4 separate regions of the Homo sapiens genome follow, and regions 1, 2 and 4 are each linked to region 3. Evidence: promoter capture Hi-C in human tissues and cell types (Jung and others, 2019). All regions are on one chromosome and are shown on one strand. The core of a region is centred on a gene start or on the middle of the fragment in contact, and the rest is flanking DNA. Distances in the headings are between cores, read along the strand shown.

Region 1 (7,270 bases), core at 3,359-5,858, 140 kb before region 3:
TCTACCTTTCCTACACACACACACACACACACACACACACACACACACACACACATACACACACACTTTTTTGAGACAGGGTCTCATCCTGTAGTCCAGGCTGGAATGCAGTGGCACAATCACAGCTCACTGCAGCTTCGACCTCCTGGGCTCAAGGGATCATCCTGCCTTAGCCTTCTCCAAGTAGCTGGGACCACAGGCATGTGTCACTATACCTGGCTTATTTTTTATTTTTAGTAGAGTCAAGTTCTCACCATGTTGTCCAGGCTGGTCTTGAACTCCTAGGCTCAAGCAATCCTCCCACCTCAGCCTCCCAAAGTGTTGAGATTACAGCCATGAGCCGCCATGCCCAGCCCCAATATATTTATAGATAAAAACTGGGATACAAATTCAGGTGATTCATTCTTAAAGTCCATCCCTGAATTTCTAGGTTATTTCTGCTCTACAGGGAAGGGAACCCTTAAAATGTTCAAGTCATTAAGTCTAACTGAGGGTGTGCTGATAGAAATTCAGAGTGGATATTATAAGCAAAGGATAACAGCCTGGTACATCTACAAACTGAGCAGAGACCACAAAAACCCAGAATGCTAGATCCTCCCATATGAGAAAATCCCCCATAGAGACAAAGAATGCTAGAAGTTTTATATGTATGTATGTATGTACGTATGTATGGTTTTTTCCTCATCAAATTCTTATATACAATCCTTGAAGCATGGGCTCTTGGATTCTGGCTACAAAATTTGCTAGCTGTCCTTTTTTTTTGAGACAGAATCTCATTCTGTTGCCCAGGCTAGAGTGCAGTGGCGTGATCTTGGCTCACTCAAACCTCCACTTCCTGGGTTCAAGCAATTCTTGTGCCTCAGACTTCTGAGTAGCTGGGACTACAGATATGTGCCACCATGCCCAGCTAATTTTTGTATTTCTAGTAGAGACAGGGTTTCACCATGTTGGCCAGGCTGGTCTCGAACTTCTGACCTCAAGTGATATGCCCGTCTCGGCCTCTCAAAGTGCTTGGATTACAGTTGTGTAATTCGTTATATAAACTACTCTATCTCTATGAGCTTGTTTCTTCTTCCATAAAGTAAGAATACTATCACCTACCTCCTGAGGTTATTGCAAGGATCTGATGCGTTAATAAAATTTCCAGAATCTAACATGTAGAAGGCACTCAAATGATGGCAATGTTCTCTGACTTGCCTTTATAATGCCCTCATGGCTCATGGCTGGTACTGACAGGAATAATACAGGCTGAGCATCCCAAATCTGAAAATCCAAAATCCAAAATGCTCCAAAAGCCAAAAATTTTGAGCATCTACATGACAGTCACTGGAGCATTTTGAATTTCAGATTTTCAGATATGGGATGCTCAATCAGTAAGTAAATCCAAAAATCCAAAAAACAATCCCAAATCCAAAACACTTCTGGTCCCAAACATTTCAGATAAAGGATACTCAACCTGTACTATGTGGTTTATTAAGAGTGAGAGCGGGCCAGGCACGGTGGCTCATGCCTGTAATCCCAGCACTTTGGGAGGATGAGGCAGGCGGATCACAAGGTCAGGAGGTCGAGACCATCCTGGTTAACACGATGGAACCCCATCTCTACTAAAAATACAAAAAATTAGCCCAGCATGGTGGCCAGCTATTGTAGTCTCAGCTACTTGGGAGGCTAAGGCAGGAGAATCACTTGAACCCGGTAGGCGGAGGTTGCAGTGAGCCAATATCGTGCCACTGCACTCCAGCCTGGGTGACAGAGCAAGATTCCATCTCAAAAAAAAAAAAAAGAACAGTTGAGGGCTCTGCCTTCAGAGTATCTGAGAGTTAGAGTTCAAATTCTAGTTCTGGAACTTTAATTTTGAGAAAAGTTATTTAACTTTCTTTGTGCCTCAGTTAACTCATCCATATATATGGAAAATTACAGTACTATCTCATAGGATTGTTGTCAGGATTTAGTAAAAGGATACATGTAAAGTACTGAGAACACTGTATGAGAACACCTACTTCATCAAACCCTAGAATAGCTAACTGTTTGATCTTTGTTAATCTGCCAGGTGAAAAATGGTAACCTGTTATGGTTTAATATTGCACTTCTTCAACCGTCAGTATGAACTTCTTTTCATATAATTGAAAGCTATTTGTATTTCTTTTTCTGTAACTTCATGTTTTCTGTCTTTTGTCTATGTTTCTATTGGTTGTTGGTGTTTCTTCCCATTGACTAGTAAGAATGCTTTAGGTGTTAAGGAAAATTTTCCCAGTTTGTTATTTGCTTATAGTAATTTTTATGCAGATATTTCTAAATTTTATGTGGTCAGTGCTCACTTCGGCAGCACATATACTAAAATCTTATGTAGTCGGTTGGGTGCGGTGGCTCATGCCTGTAATCCCAGCACTTTGGGAGGCCCAGATAGGCGGATTGCCTAAGGTCAGGAGTTCAAGATCAGCCTGGCCAACATGGTGAAACCCCATCTCTACTAAAAATACAAAAATTAGCTGGGCATGGTGGTGCACACCTGTAGTCCCAGCTACTTGGGAGGCTGAGGCAGGAGAACAGCTTGAACCCGGGAGGCGGAGGTTTCAGTGAGCCGAGATTGCACCACTATACTCCAGCCTTGGCGACAGAACAAGACTCTGTCTCAATCAATCAATCAATAAATGAAATGAAATGAAATTTTATGTAGTCAAATCTACCAACTTTTTTCTCTTATGGCTTCTGGGTCATGCTTTAAAAAGCATTCTTCACTTAAAGATTATACACAAAAACATTATCTTAGGTCTTGCAAGGGTTACTTTTAGGTTCCTGGAATAGGTGTGACCACAGGTGCGTGCCACCACACCCAGCTAATTTTCACTTTTTGTTGTTGTTGTTGTTGTTAGAGACAGGGTCTTGCCATGTTGCCCAGGCTGGTCTTGAACTCCTGGGCTCAAAAAATCCACCTGCCTCAGCCTCCCAAAGTACTGGGATTACAGGTATGAGCCACTGTGTTCAGCCCATACCTAGGTTTTAATTCTTCAGAGGGTTTGGGAACCAAGGCAATGCATATCAAGGACCTAACACAATGCTGGGTACACAGTGGGCACGCACTAGAAGTTAATTCCTTTTTTCTCCCCTCCACTTGGAAATGTATAACATAAATATGTCCTGGTACTAATATGCACCCTCACTCCAATCTGTCCTTTCTGGACCCCTGTATTTTCATAGTAATCCCTTCCTACCACACCCAATCCCTTAACACTTAACTAATTTTAACAACCATTAATAAGAGTGATTCATTGACCCAGAAATGAATATTTTCTTTCAGCTTACAGAATTGTTAGAATGATGCCAGCCTCCCCCCAGGTCCAGACCCACCTCTCAGATGTGGCTTCTGAATGACCCACTTGGAGCATGGCCAAGCCACTCCTATCACAGCTCAATACCACATCTACCCCCTTCAGGGCAGGACTATGCCATACTTTTAATTTAGGGATTATTTTCTATGCTATACTTTTACTTTAAGGATTATTTGGGGGGAACCTCTAATTTGAAATGTTGGTGAGCCCTCTCCCACCAAGCAGTCAATTTTTGTTTTCATACTTTTCCAAAATTTTATATGTAATAAACAGAAATTCCTAAAGTAGGGACTGAGGCCACAGAACTGTAAACTATTAGCTATGCAGAATAGTCAATATTTCAAAAAGGGAGTCAAAACCCTTAGCAAGTTGTATTCTAAGAGATGCCAAAATGAAAGCAGCAACAAAGTAAGTTTTTCTGAGGATTAAAGTGGAGGCAAGGATCAAAACCTGGGTGTACCCAACATAGAATGGAATGTTAGGATATGCTTCATAGTAACTTACAGGATTTCAGATGGAGCTTCAATGAAATCCTACCTAAATACGGCTTATTTTGGAGGCACTTGTTTTGTGTTGGTTGTTCCGAAATGGTATAATGAGAAATCTTTTAAAGTATCAAAAACTACTTGTTGATAAGTTTTATAGCAAAAAAAGATTAAAATATAATAATGTACCCATTCATGGTTTGTATTAGCCCATTTTAGGTCACTGCTATTATCCTTTCTCTATCAGCTGCTGAGAGAATAAAATTAAGCAACCAATTCTTATTAGGATAAATTAAATATTTAGCAGTATAACCTCAATTCTGTGGGCTAAAAAAAGAGAATCCAGAATGCATTTTACCCATTGTAAACAGAGAAATAAACTGCTTCCAGTCCTTTTTTAATGTAGACTAGTTGGACACATATAATTGAAGTAAATACTTTATGCAACCTGTTAGATTTTGAAATAATTCTCAGTAACTGCTAGAAACATTCATCATAGAAATACTGAAGCTTAGCATGGTCAATAACCCCACTCTCCCTTTCCCTAGTAACTACCCTATTAAAATATAAAACACTAACCGATTGGAAAATCAACTAATTCATTTTATTCACTGAAAGAGTAAGCATCAAAGACTATTTCTGTCAACTGTTTTTCCCACAGATGCAATCATAAGTTATTATGAGGCATCTGCTTTTTTGCCTCACATTACATATTTTAATTCCACAACACTGAATGCCTAATATGCACTAAACATAGAATTATTTAACTCTTCTCTTTATATATTTTATCCCCTTAACTGTAATTTTCTTGAAGACAGAGCCCATGTTCTACTTGTGTTTTCTAAGTTACCAATAAATATTTAATGAAAACATTCCCAGAGGGAAAAGAATTAAAAAAAGGTATTATTAATTAAATATCTACTGTGTGCAATGCACTGAGGTGCTTTACAAATGTTACCTAAATTAAACCTCAAAGCTCATGTTGTGAAAGAAAAAAAAGTATAGAGAAGCTTAACTTCTAGTTAATCATAGAAGAGCAGGGATCCAATGCTGGAGCTATCTGAGTCTGAAGTCAATACTGTTTCCATTTCCAGTGTTGCTTAGGAGTCCCTTCAACATTCTTCAACATGCTTGATGATATATTTATTTGAATGTAATTAAATTCTGCTAAGATACTTAGTCTAAAGAGAAAAATAAAATAATTCTTAAGAGTCTTAGTTTCCTACCACAAACTCTAGAAATTTGGGACCGAAATTATTCCTAATGGAGTCATTCCTGGATGCACTACATGAAGTCAGTCAGTCTACAAATATTATGTATGTAGGTGTAAAATATTACACCTATTAATTAATACCAGCTATGAGCTATGTATAGAAATTAACCTGGAACAAAGCCTGATAGACTATTAAATAATACTTTCCTGATCTCCTTATCTGCTCTAATTTATTAAAAAAGTATTCCTGGCCGGGCACAGTAGCTCATGCGTGTAATCCCAGCACTCTGGGAGGCTGAGGCGGGTGGATCATGAGGTCAAAAGATCGACACCATCTGGCCAACATGGTGAAACCCCATCTCTACTAAAAATACAAAAATTAGCTGGGCGTGGTGGCGCATGCCTGTAGTCCCAGCTACTTGGGAGGCTGAGGTAGGAGAATCTCCTGAACCAGGGAGGCGGAGGTTGTAGTGAGCCAAGATCGCGCCACTGCACTCCAGACTGGCGACAGAGCAAGACTCTGTCTCAAAAAAAAAAAAAAAAAAAAAAAGGATTCCTTAAGTTTTGCAGCAACATCAAAAAACTTAAAAAAAGAAAATAAATTCACCTATGATCTTAAAACTCCAAATCAGTCTTGGCTTATATTCTATTCTAGTCCTTATCCTTATTTTTACTGCTATAATTATAAGTCACAAAAATTGTAATTACCATGTTTTCATGTAACTTTATAAGGATTTTCTAAGTGCTTGCTCATTTTTATATAATTTAACAAGAAAAGACAACAGAGCATAAGGAAACAGAATAATGACTCTGGAATCACGCATATATTGGAATCCTGGCTCTACTATCCAGCTATGAGACATCTCTGAGCTTCTATTTCCTCATTTATAAAATGTGTAATAAGAAAAACAGTAATAGTAGTAAGCTGGTAGCTTAAGAGTAAATTATATATTATAACACATACAAAGTGTATATCCCTATACAAAGGAAGCTATCATTAGTGACTAACATCATTACTGGCCTACTGATGATTATTAACAATTTCCCTGTTGTTATGTATTTACTGTATTTTCCAAAATTTTCTAACACTGTTAATAGTATAAAGCTCATCTTTAATATGGCTTTTTGCTTTAAACAAATTATCTTTAGGTGAAATGTTTCCATCAAGTAGATTTAACAAGTCTAGCTAACATGAACATTTTTATAATACTATCCTATTGTTTTCCCAAGAAAGTAACAATTTACATTAATATGATTTTATTAATAATGTTTGTCTATACCTGTTTTTTTTTTTTTAATTTTATTTTGAGACAGGGTCTCGCTCTATCACCCAGGCTGGAGTGCAGTGGTGCAATTTCGACTCACTGCAATCTCCACCTCCTGAGTTCAAGTGTTTCTCATGCTTCAGCCTCCCTAGTAGTTTGGGAGTGTAAAGGCATGCATCACCACACCCGGATAATTTTTTTTTGTATTTTTAGTAGAGACAGGGTTTCGCCATGTTGGCCAGGCTGGTTTTGAACTCCTGGCCTCAAGTGATCCACCCACCTCGGCCTCCCAAAGTGCTGGGAGTGATCTGCCCACCTCAGCCTCCTAAAGTGCTGGGATTACAGGTGTGAGCCACCATGCCTGGCTGACTTGTTGAGTTCATTCTTTTCTTATACATGCTCCAAAGAAACACTTTACAATTACTGTGCTGGAAGACATTTTTATCAACCTAATCTAACTATAATCTTACTGGTCTCCCTGAAGTTATTAGTTATACTAGACAACCCTGAGTGACATATTTCACAAATATTTAGGTAATGACTCCATTTAATTCAGGTGATTCTGAGATCTAGTTTCAAACTTACAATGAACTGCTATTAAGTTTCACGATTCTAGAAAGAAAGATTTGGATATATACTTACCACATTAGGATTAAATGGTGGTGGAATCTTCTTTTGTACAAGGTCAGCCCAGCTGAGTGATTCAAAAAAAGGATGATTCTGAATTTCAAGCTGGAATATTAAAAAAAATTTGTTTTACTAATGCCGAAGAATATATTAAGTACTAACTGCATAATTTTATGAAGCCAAACTATTACTATTTTGCCCCTCAATAACTCTTTTTAGGAACATGTGTATGTTATTTGTGTGGCAAAATGATGTTATTCATGTAAGCAATAGAAAGACTGAAAGAAAGTTACTTAGAATGACCTACTTAAACTTAAGTTGTATTCTCTTCACAGTCAGTTTCCTCAGTGG
Region 2 (6,844 bases), core at 2,150-4,649, 230 kb before region 3:
TGGCGTGTGCCTGTGGTCCCAGCTACTCAGGAGATTAAAGTAGGAGGATTGCTTGAGCCCAGGAGGTGGAGGCTGCAGTGAGCCATCATTGTGGCACTGCACTCCAGCCTAGGAGACAGTAAGACCCTGTCTCAGGAAAAAAAAAAAAAAAAATTTTAATTAAGCTGTATTTTTAAAAAGTAGGCCTGTGCAAGAGTGTCCCTACTCTGTGTGTAGAACATCTGTACCACCTTGCGGCCATAAGACCCTGTACCAGAGTCATCTTGAAACATGGGCTACAATCAAGTAAAAATAATGGTATGCAATGGCAGAGGCAGGCGAGTCAAGAGAGGAGGAAAGGTGTGAAGCTATTTTCAGATCCCCCATTTAGAAAGAAGAGGCCAGTTCCACCAGTGTCCAGTCCTGCTATAGTGTGTGGTTATAGGGACACACAGGAGAGACTGCCTCAAAGAGGAGACCTGACTTTAGAACCAGACCAGAACAACTAAAGCTGCCAGTGCTGAGCCACACTCGGTCTGAGAGATCCAGAGAGCAGCCACACCTGGTGTAATGAAGACTGGGCCCAGGTGGTCTTGTTTTCCTCTCCAGCCAGCCAGTGCCAGAGACTGGACACTGGACAATGTCTAGGGTGATGGTGGTAGTGGAGATGGCTTAACAGAAGACAGAAAACTTGCCATAAGCAATGACTACTGGTCTCTCCTCTTCCCCTAACCTATGTGAGCCCACCCAGACTTGTGGCTACTCTAGGGATACACACTTTGCTTACATTAGCACATTCCTTTTCTTTGTTGACAGGAAATAGAGCTTCTTGCAGGAATGGACAGTATGGTTCAGTGGTGGGAGGTAAGAGCTTATTTTTCTTTCTTTTTTTTTTTTTTTTGAGAACGGAGTCTCGCTCTGTTGCCCAGGCTGGAGTGCAGTGGCTCGATCTCGGCTCACTGCAAGCTCTGCCTCCCGGGTTCATGCCATTCTCCTGCCTCAGCCTCCCATTATTTTTCAAGATAGAGGTTTAATCAAACTTGAGGAAGGGGGAAAGGGGAGGTAAGAAGAGGTTGAAGAAGAAATAGATCGTACCAAAAGACTTAGCTTCTACTTCTTAATAGGCGATGAGTTGGGGACTTTTTTTTTTTTTTTTTTTTTTTTTTTTTTGAGAAACAGTTTTACTCTTGTCACCCAGGCTGAAGTGCAGTGGCACAATCTGGACTCACTGCAACCTCTGCCTCCCAGGTTAAAGTGATTCTCCTGCCTCAGCCTCCTGAGTACTGGGATTACAGGCTCGCACCACCAAACCTGGCTAATTTTTGTATTATTAGTAGAGACGGGGTTTCACCATGTTGGCCAGGCTGGTCTCAAACTCCTGACCTCAAGTGATCCACATACTTCGACCTCCCAAAGTGCTGGAATTACAGGCGTGAGCCACCGCACCCAGCTGAGTTAGGGACTCTCACATTAGTAAATATCCTTAGGGCATGCAGCAGTTTAGAGGAGGGAGGAGATAATATATTTTTCATTACTAAACTGATCTGTGGCCCTCAGCCTCCCTAACTCATTGACTTAAGGCCCTCTTGGTTAAGGGCAGATTCCTCCTAGAATGAAGTCACTGTACGCCTCTGTACGCCTTTGAAAATGCAAAAATAGACTGGGCGCAGTGGTTCGTGCCTGTAATCCCAGTACTTTGGGAGGCCGCGGTGGGTGGATCTCCTGAGGTCAGGAGTTCGAAACCAGCTTGGCCAACATGGTGAAACCCCATCTCTACTAGAAATACAAAAATTAGCTGGGCGTGGTGGCAGGCGCCTATAATCCCAGCTACTTGGGAAGCTGAGGCTGGAGAATCGCTTGAACCCAGGAGGTGGAGATTGCAGTGAGTGGAGATAGCACCATTGCCCTCCAGCCTGGGTGATGAGAGCAAAACTGTCTCAAAAAAAAAGAAAATGCAAAAATAACTTTGAGAGTCCCTAGCAAGCAAGATAATAGACTTAAATTTCAGACTTTATGAAGAGAGAAAATGGAATTTTAAGTTCCAAAAGCTGCCCTCTATGTATAAGCGCCAAGATTGGAGGTCTATAAATGGAGTTTTACTAAAGGTGCTAACAGGGAAGGGAGGCCAAGGCACTGAGAGGTAGTGGAGGTGTCAACCTCCACTGGTGTCCATCTTGAGAAAAATAGGGAAGTGTGGGGTAGTGAAAAATTGGAGACAAGGGCTGACCTTGCCACAGTTCTCTAGACAAAGCCCAACAAAGCCCTAGATTCTGCCCAGAGCCACACCCTGGGCAGGCAAGATGAGCAATGGCTGAGGGAGGGTCCTGAGGGCAGCCCCACACCGCAGGCTGCCACAGGTCACAAGCTGCTGAGAGTACTCAGGCCAGGATGCCAGGACACAGGAGGCCGCAGAGTACAGGGCCCCCAAAAGGGGACATTGTAAGCAGGATGCAGGATCTCAGCAGTGGATGCCAGCATGACCCTGAGGGACCAGGTAGTGACAGACACACTATGTCAGAGTGCAGTCTAGACCCAGAGGACAGACAGCATGGGAGCCTGCAGTCCCTCCCTCCATGTCCTTTTGATTCACAACTGCTCCCTGAAGCCATCTAGGGATGAATGGAGAAGGACAGGCAGGAAGCCCATTGAGTGTAAACAGCACTGATAGAGCTTCAACTTTTACTTGGCTGAATATTTAATGAACAGAGACTAACATCAAAAGGGATCTGTTTGGCAGTTTTCCTCTTCAGGAGTGAGGATTCTAGAACAAGATGAGGTTGGATACAGGACATAAAGCTACGTTATTTTCCTCACATTCCAGTCATGGTATGGACATTTTAACCCAATTATACAGTAGAGATGGACTATCTGCATCAACAGTTTACACCTAATTGCTCAGTATTCCAACTTATTTGACCTTATAGTTTAGAACACACCAAAATGACTGTGTTGGTACTGAGGACCTTCCTGGACCTTTGCAAATGGATTAGGAAAGAGTCTTGAGAAACTTGCCCAGCGTTGTCCAGCTAATCAGAGGCCAGATTCAGGCCCAGACAGTATGGCTCCGAGAGCCTGGTTCCTGTCCTAGACTACCTACTCCGTTAGTGCCTGGATGCTTAAAGCACTTGAGTTTGCACCCCTAGTTTGGTTGGAAAACACTGTCCTTTGCTGCAGGTCTCTCACTGTGGTAAGCACTTGGTATAGGGTTTGTTCTCAATACATTTCCCTTGCCTTTTGCCCTCTTCCCCTTAGCTCACAAAGTTGATATGAAATAATAGCTGAGAAAGTGCATGTAGGCAGCTCAGTGCAAGCTAGGTGTGTCTTCCCTGGCTCATTAGCTCCATTTGATGAAGAGTTAAACATGTAAGGTGAAGCGTGACACAAAAACCCGCAAGCTGCCTTAAAGGGAAAGATGGCTAATTTTGACTACATAAAAATAAATTCACAAAACAAAAGACAAGGTCAAAAGACAAAACACAAGCCAGAGGAAAAAAATCACAACACATGATAAAGCAGTAAATCTCTTTACATAAAATCAGTTCTCAGATTTCAAAAAAGCAAAACACCAACAACTTAGTGGAAACTTGCACAAATGGGAGCAAAGACCGAGCCCCTGCACTCCAGCCTAGGCAACAGAGCGAGACTCTGTCCCCCTACCCCCACAAAAAAAAATAAAAAAGAGAAACTTCCACAAATGGTAACAAACAGCAGTTCATAGAAAGAAACCAAACAGGGCCGGGCACGGTGGCTCACGCCTGTAATCCCAGCACTTTGGGAGGCTGAGGTGGGCGGATCACTTGAGGTCAGGAGTTCGTGACCAGCCTGGCCAACATGGTGAAACCCCGTCGCTACTAATAATACAAAAATTAGCCATGCATGGTGGCAGGCTTCTGTAATCCCAGCTACTCAGCAGGCTGAGGCAGGAGAATCACTTGAACCCACGAGGTGGAGGTTGCAGTGAGCCGAGATTGTCCCGCTGCGCTCCAGCCTGGGCAATAGAATGAGAATCTGTTTCAGGAAAAAAAAAAAAAAGAAACCAGCCAATATATTTATGAAAAGATACACAAGTTCAGGCATAATTAAGAAACACACATTTAGAAAGCAATGGAAGAACATATTTCACCTGTCAATGATACAAAAAATACTCATCATTAGTGAAGGTGAGGAAATGAGGACTTTTGTACTGTTGGAAGCATAACCTCTTTTAAATGTAATTTGACAGTATCTCCCACTATTATAAGTATACACACTCTGACTTAGCAATGCCATGTTAAAAAATTTCCCTACCAGGCCGAGTGCAGTGGCTCACACCTGTAATCCCAGAACTTTGGGAAACAAGGCGGGTGGATCATGAGGTCAGGAATTCGAAACAAGCCTGGCCAAGATGGTGAAACCCCGTCTCTACTAAAAACACAAAAATTAGCCAGGCGTGGTGGCATGTGCCTGTAATTTCAGCTACTCAAGAGGCTGAGGCAGGAGAATCGCTTGAACCTGGGAGGCGGAGGTTGCAGTAAGCCAAGATTGAGGCACTGCACTCCAGCCTGGGCGGTGGAGCAAGACTCCCTCTCAAAAAACAAAAAACAAACAAAAATCCCTATTGATATACTTACATTTGTAAATGTATGTAAGAATAATTATTGCAGGTATTCATCATTTTTACCTTATAATTTGTAGCCTTGACAGTTTCCCCAGCCTTCAGTATTGGCTGCACCCAAGTAACCTATCAAAAAATGCAAACCTGAAGATATAACATACTTGCTCAAATCCCTTCAGTGGTATCCCATGATCTAAGGATGAAGTCTAACCCCTTAACTTGATTTATGAACCCTCTTCCTATGTCACTGCCCTCCACCACTTCCTATTTTACATTTTAGTTATTAGTAAACACATGTGCACACACACACACAGCTATTTCACGCTTCAGTGCCTTTGTTCATCAATCATCAGTTGGTCCACAAATTTTTTTATTTTTTTATTTTATTTATTTATTTTTTGAGATAGAGTCTCACTCTGTCGCCCAGGCTGGAGTGCAGTGGCTCGATCTCGGCTCACTGCAAGCTCTGCCTCCCGGGTTCACGCCATTCTCCTGCCTCAGCCTCCCGAGTAGCTGGGACTATAGGCGCCCGCCACCACGCCCGGCTAATTTTTTGTATTTTTAGTAGAGACGGGGTTTCACCGTGTTAGCCAGGATGGTCTCGATCTCCTGACCTCGTGATCCACCCGCCTCGTCCTCCCAAAGTGCTGGGATTACAGGCGTGAGCCACCATGCCTGGCCCACAAATGTTTTTTTAATGCTACGGCAGGCATTGTTCATTGCTTACTAGATTAGTTAGGAATTGCATTCAGCTGCTAATAAGAAAGACCCAACTATAGTGGCTTTAGTAAATTAAAAATTTATTCTCTAAAAGAAATCCAGGCCGGGTGCTGGGGTCTCACGCCTGTAATCCCAGCACTTTGGGAGGCTGAGGCGGGCAGATCACGAGGTCAGGAGTTCAAGACCAGCCTGGCCAACACAGTGAAACTCCATCTCTACTAAAAATACAAAAAAAAATTAGCCGGGCTTGGTGGGCGCCTATAGTCCCAGCTACTTGGGAGGCTGAGACAGGAGAATCGCTTGAACCAGGGAGGCAGAGATTGCAGTGAGCTGAGATGGCCCACTGCACTCCAGCCTGGGTGACAGAGTGAGACTCTGTCTCAAAAAAAAAGAAAAAGGAAAAAAAGAAAGCAAAGAAAAGAAATCCATAAGTAGGCAGTCCAGGACTGGTAAGGTGGCTTAGTGTAATCAAAGCTTCCACTTACTTTTTTTTTTTTTTTTTTTGGCGACAGAGTCTCGCTCTGTCGCCCAGGCTGGAGTGCAGTGGGTGATCTCAGCTCACTGCAAGCTCTGCCTCCCGGGTTCACACCATTCTCCTGCCTCAGCCTCTCAAGTAGCTGGGACTACAGGTGCCCACCACCACACCTGGCTAAGTTTTTGTATTTTTAGTAGAGACAGGGTTTCACCATGTTAGCCAGGATGGTCTTGATCTCCTGACCTTGTGATCCACCTGCCTCCACCTCCCAAAGTGCTGGGATTACAGGCGTGAGCCACTGCGCCTGGCTGCTTCCACTTATTTTTTATCGGCCAGAACTGGGTCATAAAGTCACCTCCATGTGTAAGGAAGGTATATCAGTTTGAGTTTGGCTGCAGTATCTGCTTTAGCTAGTTTAAAAAGAAAGGGGCTTACCAGGGTGATGAGGCTGAGCGAGCTGTGATTGAGCCACCACACCAGCCTGGGTGACAGAGCAAGACCCTGTCTCAAAAAAAAAAAAAAAAGAAAAAAGAAAAGAAAAGGAGAGAGAGAAAGAAAGGAAGGAAGCAAGGAAGGGAGGGAGGGAGGGAGGGAAAAGAAAGGGAGAGAAAGAAAGAGAGAGAGAAAGAGGGAGAGGAGAGGGGAGGGGAGGAGAGGAGAGGAAGGAAGCTTATAGGTTATTAGTGACTTACAGAATCATGAGATGAAACTAACCTGGGCTGGATTTATAGTAACAATTTCTAAATCCATTCCATGGAACTGGGCTGCCAAGGTAGCTGATACTTCTGCCATGATCTGAACTCTGCTTGCCAAACAGGAAGCTGCCTTACAGTGGCTGACTCCAGAAGCATGCTGCCCTTGCTAGACATACATGATGGTTAATTTTTTGCGTCATATTGATTGGGCCAAGGGACGCTCAGATCACTGGTTAAACACTATTTCTGGATGCTATGGACCGAATGTGAGAGAGGCTGAAACAGGAGGCTCAAACTGTTGAGCCCAGGAGTTTGAATCCAGCCTGGGCAACAAAGTGAGAACCCATCTCTAAACACAAAACAAAACAAAACAAAACAAAA
Region 3 (6,490 bases), core at 3,563-6,062:
AGTGAGTCCTACTTTTGTATATGAATATATTACATATGAAATCCAGTTTTCTTTTCTTTTTTTTTGAGAAGGAGTCTCACTCTGTTGCCCAGTCTGGAGCACAGTGGTGCGATCTCGCTCACTGCAACCTCTGCCTCCTGGGTTCAAGCCATTCTCCTGCCTCAGCCTCCCCAGTAGCTGGGATTACAGGCATGCGCCACCATCCCCAGCTAATTTTGTATTTTTAGTAGAGATGGGGTTTCTCCATGTTGGCTAGGCTGGTCTCAAACTCCTGACCTCAGGTGATCCACCAGCCTCAGCCTCCCAAAATGCTGGGATTATAGGCGTGAGCCACCAAGCCCAGCGTTTTTTTTTTGTTTTTTTTGTTTTTTTTGTTTTTTTTTTTCAGATAAAGAGTTTCACTCTTGTTGCCCAGGCTAGAGTGCAATGGCACGATCTTGGCTCACTGAAACCTCTACCTCCTGAGTTCAAGAGGTTCTCCTGCCTCAGCCTCCCAAGTAGCTGGGCTTACAGGCATGCACCACCATGCCCAGCTAATTTATGTATTTTTTTTTTTTTTAGTAGAGACAGGGTTTCGCCGTGTTGGCCAGGCTGGTCTCGAACTCCTGAACTCAGGTGATCTGCCCACCTTGGCCTCCCAAAGTGCTGGGATTACTCGTGTGAGCCACCGTGCCTGGCCTCTACATTTTAATTATCTGCCAACAAGCTCGCTTAGTGGCTTGAAGAAAGCTACCTACAAGAACACTTCTGCACTTGATGGTACAAAGTAACTCTGCCCACCAATATCACATCATGCCAAGAGATGTTTCTAGTTCTTCTCAAACTTTCATTTCATATAGGTCTTTCCTATATGTATGGCCCTGTTAGGAGAAGCACAGCTGCACTGCACAGGAATCCTCTGCCACAAGACCTCACTAACATCACTTACTTCACACACATCTCCATTTTCCGTCTTACATATTATCAGTCCCTCATCCTCTAACAATTCCCCTTGTATCTTCATGTTTCTTTCAGTCACCCCCAACCCCCCCGCCCAAAGAAAGCAGATTTTGCTTTAGCGTAATAGAAGAACAGTGGCCACCAGGAGGTGAACTTAGGCAGGTTTTCAGGACTTTGTCCAATTTCTCAAGTCCTTTACTATTTCTCCAAAGGCAAGGATACTGCACACTGCCCTAATTCCCTTTGAAAACCCTCTAGCTCAGCTTCAGACAGCCAATACAATTTTACTGGGTGACGCTTTGAATTGGCCTTCAACATCTGATTTCCACATTGTCTTCCTCGGCAATGACAACTGAAAGTTAGCATTGAGTTAAAACTACTTTGACGTGAACTACAAGATGCGGAAGTAGCACCTCTTAGATTTACCACTTTTCTCCATGATACTGGGCAGGGGAGAGTGAAATGAGAGCAAAGTCTCCACCATGAGAAATGGAAAAGGTAAAGGAAAACAGAGACACTGAGTCGCTTAAAATAATATGGGAGCTGTTACATCTGTCAGGAATAACATGTTACATAAGTTGAGTTTCATGAATCAGCAGTTTAGTCAGTAATTTACATTAATTTTTTTCAAAAAGAGAAAACATGAGAACTGGAAAAGGTAAAGTGGTTTCTGAAACAAGACAGGTTTCAAAGGTATTTTATTCCACTCCCACACAGAAGAACGTTGACAGGCAGATGACTCAGTCTGGCTTCATTAAGGGTTTCTTACTGCCTAATACACCTCATGGGAAAGGCCATCCCATCTCTCATATCTCCCTGATAACTCTTCTCAATTCCTCCTGCCAGGTAATGGCCATATTATCCCCTCTAATTGAAGGTTATCCACCTGGAAATCACATACTTTAGGTACCAAGGGCTATACTTAAAGCATATAAATAGTTGAGGAATTTTGTGTGTGTTTTTAAAGACCCTTTATGCTAAATTCATTGCAACATTTCAATAAAACACATAGTTTTATTTCAAAAATATTTACAATACCTATGATCATTGAGTTTGAACTTGATCATAAATCTAAGTAGTTTAGAAAGATAAGAAAGCTGTGGCCAGGCACGGTGGCTCACGCCTGTAATCCCAACACTTTGGGAGGCCAAGGCAGGCTGATCATGTCAGGGGTTTGATAATAGCCTGGCCAACATGGTGAAACCCTGTCTCTACTAAAAACACAAAAATTAGCCAGGTATGGGGGCATGCACCTGTAGCCCCAGCTACTCGGGAGGCTGAGGCAGGAGAATCGCTTGAACCCGGGAGGCGGAGGTTGCAGTGAGCCTAGGCTGCGCCATTGCACTCCAGCCTGGGCAACAGAGCAAGACTCTGTCTCAAAAAAAAAACAAAGAAAGAAAGAAAGAAAGCAAGCTGTCAACATAAACATAAATACCATGTGTCCGTTCTAAACTCTCAAAACTAGAGAAAAAAGGTAGGATGAAAAAAATACCCAACCTATTTTCTTTTTCAAAAACCAGAGGTGGCAAATCTTAAGAAATAAGTCCAAAGGGATTCCCATCCTTTTTGTAGAAAATGTGCTGTATTAGATACTGTCTGAAATGAGAGAGGCATTGGATTAGGCCTGGAAATCTCTCAGGCATAAATCAATTACTACGGTATTTTGAGAGACATGTTTTGAAAGAGCAAGATATCTGAAGCCATTTGGAGTCATTCATTCCACAGATGTTTATTACAGGCCTGCACGTGCCAGGCACTGTCCACACACCTGCCCTCCATTCAAGCTCTGCCTCTCACCTGCTGTGCAATCCAGGCTAAAGCACTTTAACATTTCCATGCCTCAGTTTCTTCATCTGTAAAAACAGGTAATAAAAAGTAATTAAGAGATCAACCATACAAGATCTCTCTGAAAGGTAAAGGAGTATGTCTGGAAGCACTTTGTAAGCCATGAAAATGCTAGGGGTCATCCGACTAAACTGAATTCACAAATGACACTAATGCCTGTTGTGTCATAAATTATTAATATATCAGAGGAACATGAGCCTTCTTGCTTCAAGAGACACTTCATAATCCTATTAAATAAGGCTTATCGGCTCACTTAATCATCTCTCTGAAAAGTTAAATATATGAGAGAGAGATAAGGGAGGGGGGCACAGAAAGGGAGTGAGGGAGTCAGAAAGCTAGTCTGATGTGCAGATTTTGACATTACATTCATAGTCACAATAACAAGAATCATGTCTATCTTAGTCACCACATTGGGTCTCTAATGGTGCACATTTGAAGAGGGCATGTTATTCTGAAAAAATATTCTCTGCATATCTGCAAATCACAAAAGGTACACCTATGAGGCTGACCTACCAATTCAATGTTTCCAAGAGCAAATAGCAGTAAAATTACAAAACGTTATTTGTTATGTTGATGTGTGCAAACAAAAATGTTCTATTTTATAGTACATTTCAAGTTCAATCTGACCCTCATATCTAAACTATGTCATATAAATAATGTCATATAAACAGTGTCGAACAGATCAGGAACAAAGCTCTTTTCAAAAACAAAAGTAGGCTCCATGCAGTGGCAGTTAAAGAAGGGGAAGTTCTGGTGTCTCCAGAGTTAGCCGATGGGCACAACGGCAGTTGAAAGAGACCATGTTACACAAGTCATTCAGGTTCTGGCCAACATCTGCTTTGAACAGGTCGCATTCCCAGGAGCTCCAGGCTCCCTTACCCCAGGGAAATGCTGGGGTGGTGGCTTGTCTTACAGAAGTGGTAGCCAAGGGGACCAGAAGGCACACCCGGTGCTAAAACATGCCTAAAACTTCCTCTAATGTTTACAGCTCTTCCAATGACATTTGGGGAACTAAAGTATGGATAGCCTCTTCATTGCTAGAACCGCTATAATATGATAAGTTAAGAATTTGATTTAATATTTATAAAGAACTTAGAAAGAGCCCAGCGCATAGTAAGGGCTATGTAAGTGTTTGGTAAATAAAAAAAGGCACCTCCCAGATTGGCTGGGTGAAGTCTCAATCTGGTGAGAAGGGAGAGAATCAAAATACACAACAGTCTATTTTTCACTTTGACAAAAGATTTAGAAATTACAGTGCTCTGTATTTATTTTGCACCCAAGTGCACACTAAGTAGTCTCTGGTGCAGGACTGAAATTCTACTCATGGTTCAGAAGTCACTGTGCACAACTCAATGAAAGCGTTTTAAGTTTCAAGAGATGATTCCTTTCTCTTTTCTCTTTCCAAGTAACGATGACTAAAAATGACAGAATCTAAAAATCTCAAAGCACTTCTTGTGGGTACATTCCAAAGCTAAAACTGTGAGAATTAATAGGGCCAGATTCACTTGAAGAGACGTAAGGGTTCAAATTACAGAGAACTTAAAAGACGCAACGTATTAAGGTCTTTTACTACAGATCCGCTGACAACAGGTTAAACGATTCCATCCACCCCACTCTGGCGGCTGCCCCCTCCCCGACCCTCGCAGGTGACCTGCACCCACTTTCGACCTCAGATAGGGTCTCCCTGCTCGGCGTTCCCAGTTCCTCCAGGCTCGGCGGCTGCGTGGGGGTTAACAAGGTCCAGCCACCGACGCCCCTTGGGCGTTTAGGAATCTCGAGGCAGGATCTGAATTCACCTCGTGGAAACAAAGACCACAAACTCTCCGGGAGCCGGGGGCTGGGCGGAGGTACGGCTTTTTCCGAGGACAGGCAGCGGCCGAGGCCCGGGCAGCCCTCGCCCCGCCCCGTCTCCTCCCGCCCCGGGCCGCCGTCGGAGTCCCGGGCGCGCGGACCCTCCCGCCGGCCCCGCACCTACCTGGCCCCGCGGTGCTGCTCCCGGCGCGGCGGGCGCGGAGCCGAACGCACTGCGCTTCCTCCTTCCCGGCAGGGCCGCCGGGCGCCGGCGTTTCCTCCTTGACGCGTCACGGCCGCTGGCGGCTCCTCCCGCGGAGCGCGCGGGAGGCCGAGGACAGCCGGGGAAGGCGCCGGATCCCAGCAGAGCGGCGCGAGCGGCGGGCCGGGGGCAGCCCGTGCGGGGAGGGGCTGCAGGCTGCGTCCCGCTCAGGCCTCCGAGGAAACCCGCGCTCCTCTCTCTTCCCCGAGGACCCCCGCGAAAGGCCGGGCCACGGTGCACCGTCTGCCCCCGTCACGCGCTGTGCAAAGTTCAAGAGGACACAGTGGGTCCTGTCTGGAGTCACAGACTCTGGTGTTTCCCTCTGCTCCGCCCGCAGTGGCCGCTACCCTGGGGCCCAAGACCGGCGCGGGCCAGAGCGCCGGGGCCCAACAGAGATGACCTGGTGTGTGCAGGGATCAGGACCCCCCGGGTGGGCCCGTGGTGTTGGGGGGGTTGGCTTGGTGTAAACTGGAAACTCAGAGGAGTGAATTAAATATCCAAATAATTGAGAACAACTGTGATTCATTTAGCATTATTTGGACAGTTTTCCACTTTTGTCATTAGCAGAGTTACGGCCCTTGTGTTTATAAACAGTCGAGAACTTTCACAAATTGGCAGATCCTGTGTGCAGAGAAATTTCCTTTCCACACATCTTTTTAGATCTACTGACTCTTTTTTTTATTCCCATTAATCTCCAAGTCAGCTGAGTGCACACTTTACAGCTCCTTATTACTCATTCTTGAATTACAGAAGCTGCGTTTTAGATCTGTTTATCTCTTTTAACAGATAGAGAAGCTGAGTGGAGAACTAAGAATTACATGGTTCAATGGATGTGGAGTCAAGTGGTTAAGATTTTGAAGTAGAGTGGGTTGTTTTCTTCGTCCCACAACACTACTGTAATTTAGGTCTTATCAGATATCACTTGAAGATAGACTCAGACAAGTACTTAAAGATTCCCATGTGCATATCATGCCTTAGATTTTGAGACAATGATTTGTACTTTAGATCATATGATTCCAGAGAATTTGCCACAAATCTATGAACAAATAAACTGCCAAAGGTTATTAGAGGAACTGGGATCTATGTGTGACTTCCCTAAATTCAGAAGACATTTCCTCATGTTTTAAAATGATATTCAAAGATTTAGCCCCACAAGTATGGGTTAGGACATTCATTTTTAATGTCAATAACCACAATGTGGCCTCTCTTTAAAAAGTGGATTGTGAATCCAAATACTTTTTGTACTTCAGTAATCCTACAGAACTTTCTAAACAGTAGTTTTCAGAAATGAATATAAGAATGCAGTAGATACAAAACAATACATTGCCGGTGGTCCTTTATATGTTTTACTGTGGTCCACAAAGCAATCCACATACATTAGAGGAGTTCTTCCCTTGTAACAAAATCAACAAGTGATGAGTGTATCTCTTAATTAAAGCCATATTCACAGTGCTGAAGATTTCTCAGACAAAAGGAAGTTCTGTGTCAATAAACTCCAAGTGGAATAACATCATTCTCACTTTAGAGACAAATACCTGGCTATCACCACATCTTGACTTTTTAAAAAAATAAACATCTGGGAACCATTACATTTCTAGATAAATTTGTCCTATTGTGAAGAACACACACACACACACACACACACACACACAC
Region 4 (6,609 bases), core at 1,767-4,266, 190 kb before region 3:
TCCACCTGAGACCACCTCAGCCTGGACTTCATTGTCCATATCACTATCAGCATTTTGGTCAAAGACATTCAACAAGTCTCTAGGAAGTTCCAACTCTCCCACATCTTCCTATCTTCTTCTGAGCCCTCCAAACTGTTCCACCCTCTGCCTGTTGTCAAGTTACAAAGTCAAGTCCACATTTTTGGGTATCTTTATAGCAGCACCGCACTCTCTGCAGTACCAATTTACTGTATTAATCTATTTTCATACTGCTATAAAGAACTGCCTGAGACTGAGTAATTTATAAAGGAAAGAGGTTTAATTGACTCACAGTTCAGCGTGGCTGGGGAGGCCTCAGGAAACTTACAATCATGGCAGAAGGTAAAGGGGAAGCAAGGCACCTTCTTTCAAGGCAGCAGGAAGGAGAACTGCCAAGCGAAGGGGGAAGAGCCCTTATAAAACCATCAGATTTGTGAGAACTCACTCACTATCATGAGAATAGCATAGGGGAAACTGCCCCCATGATTCAGTTACCTCCACCTGGTCTCTCCTTTGACATTTGGGGATTATGGGGATTTCAATTCAAGATGAGATTTGGGTGGGGACAAAAAGCCTAACTGTGTCAGTCACTAAGTAAATATATTCAGCCATATGGCTGGGCGTGGTAGCTCACACCTGCAATCTCAGCACTTTGGGAGGCCAAGGAAGGTGGATCACTTGAGGTCTTGACAGTTTGAGACCAGCCTGGCTAACATGGCAACACCCCATCTCTACTAAAAATACAAAAATTAACTGGGTGTGGTGGTGCATGCTTGTAATTCCAGCTACTCAGGAGGCTGAAGCAGGAGAATCACTTGAACCCAGGAGATGGAGGTTGCAGTGAGCCAAGATTGTGCCACTGCACTCCAGCCTGGGTGATGGAGTGAGACTGTCTCAAAAACAAAACAAAACAAAAAACTCAACCATATTCTATCACAGGAGTCCTTAATATAATAATACTATAATTCTTCAATTCAAAGACATATATTTTCATCTTATTACCGTACTCCAGTTGTATCTTAACAATTGATGGCATGGCATGGTAAAATTGGCAGAATTTTTTCTTTACAGCACATAAAATAATGTGTCTTAGACTTAATGAAATGTGGTCTTAAACATAGACTAGGAGAAGCATGTAAAGATAAAGCAAATTGATAATCTTCAATAAACCTGACAAAAAACAAGCAATGGGGAAAGGATTCCCTATTTAGCAAATGGTAGTGGGAAAACTGGCTAGCCATACACAGAAAACAGAAACTGGACCCCTTCCTTACACCTTATACAAAAATTAACTCAAGATGCATTAAAGGCTTAAATGTAAAACCTAAAAGCATAAAAACCCTAGAAGAAAACCTAGGCAACACCATTTAGGACACAGGCATGGGCAAAGACTTCATGACTAAAACACCAAAAGCAATTGCAACAAAAGCCAAAATTGACAAATGGGATCTAATTAAGCTAAAGAGCTTCTGCACAGCAAAAGAAACTATCATCAGAGTGAACAGGCAACCTACAGAACCGGAGAAAATTTTTGCAATCTCTCCATCTGACAAAGGTCTAATATCCAGAATCTACAAGGAACTTAAACACATTTACAAGAAAAAAAACCCCATCAAAAAGTGGACAAAAGATATGAACAGACCCTTCTCAAAAAAAAGACATTTATGCAGCCAACAAACATATGAAAAAAAGCTCATCATCACTAGTCATTAGAGAAATGCAAATCAAAACCACAATGAGATATCATCTCACAACAGTTAGAATGGTGATCATTAAAAAGCCAGGAAACAACAGATGCTGGTGAGGCCGTGGAGAAACAGGAACGCTTTTACACCGTCGGTGGGACTGTAAATTAGTTCAAACATTGTGAAAGACAGTGTGGCGATTCCTCAAGGATCTAGAACCAGAAATACCATTTGACCCAGCAATCCCATTACTGGGTATATACCCAAAGGATTTTAAATCATTCTACTATAAAGACACATGCACACGTATGTTTATTGCAGCACTATTTACAATAGCAAAGACTTGGAACCAACCCAAATGCCCATCAATGATAGACTGGATAAAGAAAATGTGGCACATATACACCATGGAATACTATGCAGCCATAAAAAATGAGTGCATGTCCTTTGCAGGGACATGGATGAAGCTGGAAACCATCATTCTCAGCCAACTAACACAGGAACATAAAACCAAACACCACATATTCTCATTCATAAGTGGGAGCTGAACAATTAGAACACACGGACACAGGGAGGGGAACATCACACACTGAGGCCTGTTGGGGGTTGGCGGGGGCAAGGGGAAGGAGAGCATTAGGACAAATACCATGCGGGGCTTAAAACCTAGATGACAGGTTGATAGGTGCAGCAAACCGCCATGGCACATGTATACTTATGTAACAAACCTGCATGTTCTGCACACTTAACCCAGAACTTAAAGAGAAAAAAAAAATAGGTGGGACACGGTGGCTCACGCCTGTAATCTCAGCACTTTGGGAGGCCAAGTCAGGCAGATCACCTGAGGTCGGGAATTCCAGACCAGCCTGACCAACATGGAGAAACCCCATCTCTATTAAAAATACAAAATTAGCTGGGCGTGGTGGCGCATGCCTGTAATCCTAGCTACTCAAGAGGCTGAGGTTGCTTGAACCTGGGAGGCAGAGGTTGCAGTGAGCCGAGATCATGCCATTGCACTCCAGCCTGGGCAACAAGAGTGAAACTCCATCTCAAAAAAAAATAATAATAATAATAAATAATAATTTAAAAAAGAAATGCTAATTAAAAAAAGATAAAGCAAATTGAAATGAAAAACATATATATATCCTCCCTAACTATTATTTAGTATTGGTTGGGAACCAGCGTTATTCTCTTTTGGTAAATAAAACTAATTCAGGATGATATTTAACCTCTTTTAGGGGCCATAAATCTCTATTTCATAAAAATTAATGCTCTATGTTCCTCGGAAAAAAATGTATAAGGCACACACATGTGTACATTTGTATATTATTTAGGGATTTGCAAGCCCCTATACCAAGCATCTATGGATCCTAGATTAAGAATGCTTGACATTTATAGAACAAAGACAATTATAGAACAATTTATAGAACTTTAGACAATAATAGAACAAAGTTCTAATATTCGAATGGATCTCTGCAAACAGGTATTACAATATAAATGTAATTTAAAGCAAATGTAATCACCAGCACATACACACAGGAAAGCTAGTGTTAATACATTCTTTAAGTCCCAGGGCTGGAACCAAGGTTTGGTTTGAAGAATGGTATCGCTAATCAAAATTAATGTCTCATCTAATTCAACCAAGAACTTTGGGAGAATAACTCTCCTTTACCCTTACCTTAAAAACCTCTTTTGCGTGTTTATTAGCAAAAGCATAATAAGTGCCATTCATTTCAAAAAATTAAATGCTATAGACATAGTATTAAAACTAGTAATTCAGCAAAGGTGGTGATACAAGATAATCAGATTTTCTTTTCTTTCTTTCTTTTTTTTTTTTTTTGAGATGGAGTCTCACTCTGTCACCCAGACTGGAGTGCAGTGGTGCAATCTCAGCTCACTGCAACCTCCACCTCCCAGTTTCAAACGATTCTCTTGCCTCAGCCTCCTGAGTAGCTGGGACTACAGGCACCTGCCACCACACCTAGCTAATTTTTGTACTTTTAGTAGAGACGGGTTTTCACCATATTAGGCAGGCTGGTCTTGATCTCCTGACCTTGTGATCCATCTGTCTCGGCCTCCCAAGGTGCTGGGATTACAGGTGTGAGCCACCACACCCAGCTGATGATCAGATTTTCTTTTGCTATGTTGCCTAACTCCACTGTGGGGGATTGTTTGATACCTAAATGTTGCAAGTTATTTTAAAAGGAAGATAAATTAAAATCATTTTATGTGTTGTAGTAAGTACTTTTTCCCCCAGAATTCTTTAAGCAATGCAAATGTTCAAATATGAAAACAATCATGCATAATAAGGAATTTAATATCAGATGATGATACTACCCAGAAACAGTTAATAAATGCCCAAATTAAAACAGGCCTTACCTGGTAGAGATTTGTTATTCTTTAAAATAATATTTTAAAAATATATGTAACATTTTAATTTAACCAACTAAGAATATTTAAGGTTAAATAAAAGTTATTTGTAGTGATCATTAATAATTTAATTCATTACCATATTTCAATGTGAGGGATGTTTCAAATAGTAAGGCTGCAATCAGCACATCTTCTTTAAGCACTTTGTTCCTTAAGTTCAGTCGTGCATGGGCTTCAGATAGGAAAACGCTAAAAAAGAAAATAGTTGCCAAAGAAAATATGTTGATATTATAAAAATAATATATATTTTGGCAGGAACAAATCGAGATATATATGAACCTTAGCCACACCTAAAGCATATTCTTACTTTAAAAAAATTTTTAGTTTCTTTTCAAAGGATTTTTTTTCCCCACCGACTTAAATAGACTGTTCCAGAACAAGCCAGTATCCTTTTGGTTTCCATCCTGGCTTTTATTTATCATTCCACACTCCCCTCCCGAAGTTTTGTTCAGATAAATACACAGTTGGGAAAATTAATCTAACTAAATATCTTTTACAGACAAATCCTTGACTTTTTCTTTTAGTCCTTCATTTATCTAAAATCCTCATAGATTTGCAAGATTTTTGTTTGCAATTTCAGCATTGGAAGAGATCTTGGAATTCAAAGTTCAAACTTTCATCAGAAAACTAAATTTCCTCTACAACATCCTGGGCTATTCATTTTCCAGTCTCTTTTGGACCTCTCCTAGCATTCATGGCTTCATGAGGCAATCCGTTCCTTTATTTTTAATTTTTTAACCAGCTTCCATTACTTGAAAGATCTCCTTCAAGCAAAAGTGATGTATCTGAATGACTGCTGAACTTGGGAATCAGAAAACCTAGGCTGAGTCTCTAGAATTTACTAGCTGTATTACTTTGTATAAATCATTTAATGTATGAGATTTTTTGAAACTCAGCTGTAAAAGGCAGATAAGTAAAGGCATTTGAAAGTTTTGCAACTAACTATAACCATAACTAACTATAACCAAGATTCTATCAATCTAAGCTAAAATTAGTTTCACTGCAATTTCTACCCACAGGTCTCTTGTTCTGTCTTCTGAGACCTCTTAATATGATGCTCTTCAGATATGCAAAGATAACTTTTTGATTGCTCCGTGTTTTCTCTCCTCCAAGTTAAATATTTCTAGTTCCTTTACTATGCTATGAGACATAATTTTCAGCTCCTTACCATGATGGCTACTCTCCTCATGACCTAATTTGGTTAATACTCCTTTTCAGTGCAGTACGACAGCAGTTTTGACCATCACATTAGAGATAAGGCATAACTAGCATTTTGTTGCTCTTGATATATATTCTATTAATATGACCCCAACTCTCAGTATTATTAATAGCCATATTACATTATTTACTCTTATTAAACATAAAAAGAATGAAATATCAAATCCTTTTCATATCTTTTCATATTAAGCCACATTACCATTTTCTCATCAATTCACACTTATACTAGGGAGTCTGGGCATCTAACAGAGGGCTTTACATTTATCCTATTAACTTTCTTCTTTTAGATTAAGATCACAGTTCAAGCTTGTGAAGTTCTCTCCAATATTGCTCATTTATAAATGTAATTATCATGTCTCTGATATCCTCATCCAAGATCCTTCTAAAAATGTTGACCGGGACAGAATATGTATAGAGCCTTTAGAAAGTATTGTTCAGCTCCACTTCTCTAGAAAAGCAAAGATGCTTGTGATTAGGTACCTGTCTGTAGAAATGGCAAAAAAATTCAAGGTTTATGACTCTTCTAGCTAGGGGTTTATTTACTCTGCTGTTTCACAAACCACCCTTAGTATTTATTTCTACAATGCGAAAAAGTAGAGTTATCATATTAAAATTAACTACTTTATTTTTGAAATAATAGCTGCATCACAGCTTCACTGTGTTGTGATGTAGCAGTACCATAGTTTAAACAGTCCCCTACTGATAGACCATTTCTTTATTTGATATAGTATTAAAGTGTAATCTCAAAATAATTGTTAAGTAGAACCAGGAGTAAAATAATTCATTAAATAAATAAATAAATATATTGTTACAACTGCAATATAAAATAAGACAGATGAAGAACTGGCAGAAAATGTCAAGTATAAATCTGTAAGATTTAGACATGTTTAGTTAATTTCCCCAACTGTATATTTATCTTCATAGAGCTGAAAAAATGCTAAAGATAAGCCAAGTAGAAGTCAACTCTTTGATAAATGTTTCAAAATGGAAAACAGAATTACATAATGCTTTCTGTTTCCTGAAGTAACATTTAAAATACTCAGATCAAATTACACTGTTTGCTTTTTTTTTTTTTTGAGACAGTTTCACTCTTGTTGCCCAGGTTGGAGTGCAATGGCCCAATTGCAGCTCACTGCAACCTCCGCCTCCCAGGTACAAGTGATTCTCCTGTGTCACAGCCTCCCAAGTAGCTCAGATTACAGGCATGTGCCACCATGCCTGGCTCATTATTTTGTATTTAGTAGAGACAGGGTTTCATCAC

Evidence for each region. The method cuts DNA at HindIII sites, captures the fragments that hold promoters and counts their contacts. A contact is called where the count stands out against the background at its distance.
Region 1: a fragment that was not itself captured here is called in contact with the fragment with the promoter of SGK3 in region 3 in 1 of the 25 tissues and cell types used here (dorsolateral prefrontal cortex).
Region 2: a contact is called between a fragment that was not itself captured here and the fragment with the promoter of SGK3 in region 3, in 2 of the 25 tissues and cell types used here (lymphoblastoid cells and spleen).
Region 4: a fragment that was not itself captured here is called in contact with the fragment with the promoter of SGK3 in region 3 in 1 of the 25 tissues and cell types used here (hippocampus).

Annotation. Positions count from the first base shown.
Region 1 is chr8:66,850,585-66,857,854 of GRCh38, reverse strand. It overlaps C8orf44-SGK3 (C8orf44-SGK3 readthrough), which reads right to left. Exons shown (of 19, transcript NM_001204173.2): 18 at 6,935-7,024. It overlaps SGK3 (serum/glucocorticoid regulated kinase family member 3), which reads right to left. Exons shown (of 17, transcript NM_001033578.3): 16 at 6,935-7,024. Among named protein-coding and RNA genes, the nearest start is that of MCMDC2, 17 kb to the left of the region's middle. The HindIII fragment of the contact is 5,715 bases long and covers 1,751-7,270 here.
Region 2 is chr8:66,936,675-66,943,518 of GRCh38, reverse strand. No RefSeq gene overlaps it. Among named protein-coding and RNA genes, the nearest start is that of SNHG6, 15 kb to the right of the region's middle. RefSeq lists an enhancer at 2,322-2,823. The HindIII fragment of the contact is 8,975 bases long and covers 1-6,844 here.
Region 3 is chr8:66,711,103-66,717,592 of GRCh38, reverse strand. It overlaps SGK3 (serum/glucocorticoid regulated kinase family member 3), which reads right to left and starts at 4,812. Exons shown (of 17, transcript NM_001033578.3): 1 at 4,760-4,812. All of the region lies in intron 3 of C8orf44-SGK3 (C8orf44-SGK3 readthrough), which reads right to left. RefSeq lists a silencer at 4,634-5,103. The HindIII fragment of the contact is 13,282 bases long and covers 1-6,490 here.
Region 4 is chr8:66,902,936-66,909,544 of GRCh38, reverse strand. It overlaps MCMDC2 (minichromosome maintenance domain containing 2), which reads right to left. Exons shown (of 15, transcript NM_173518.5): 14 at 4,210-4,319. Among named protein-coding and RNA genes, the nearest start is that of SNORD87, 16 kb to the left of the region's middle. The HindIII fragment of the contact is 7,995 bases long and covers 1-6,609 here.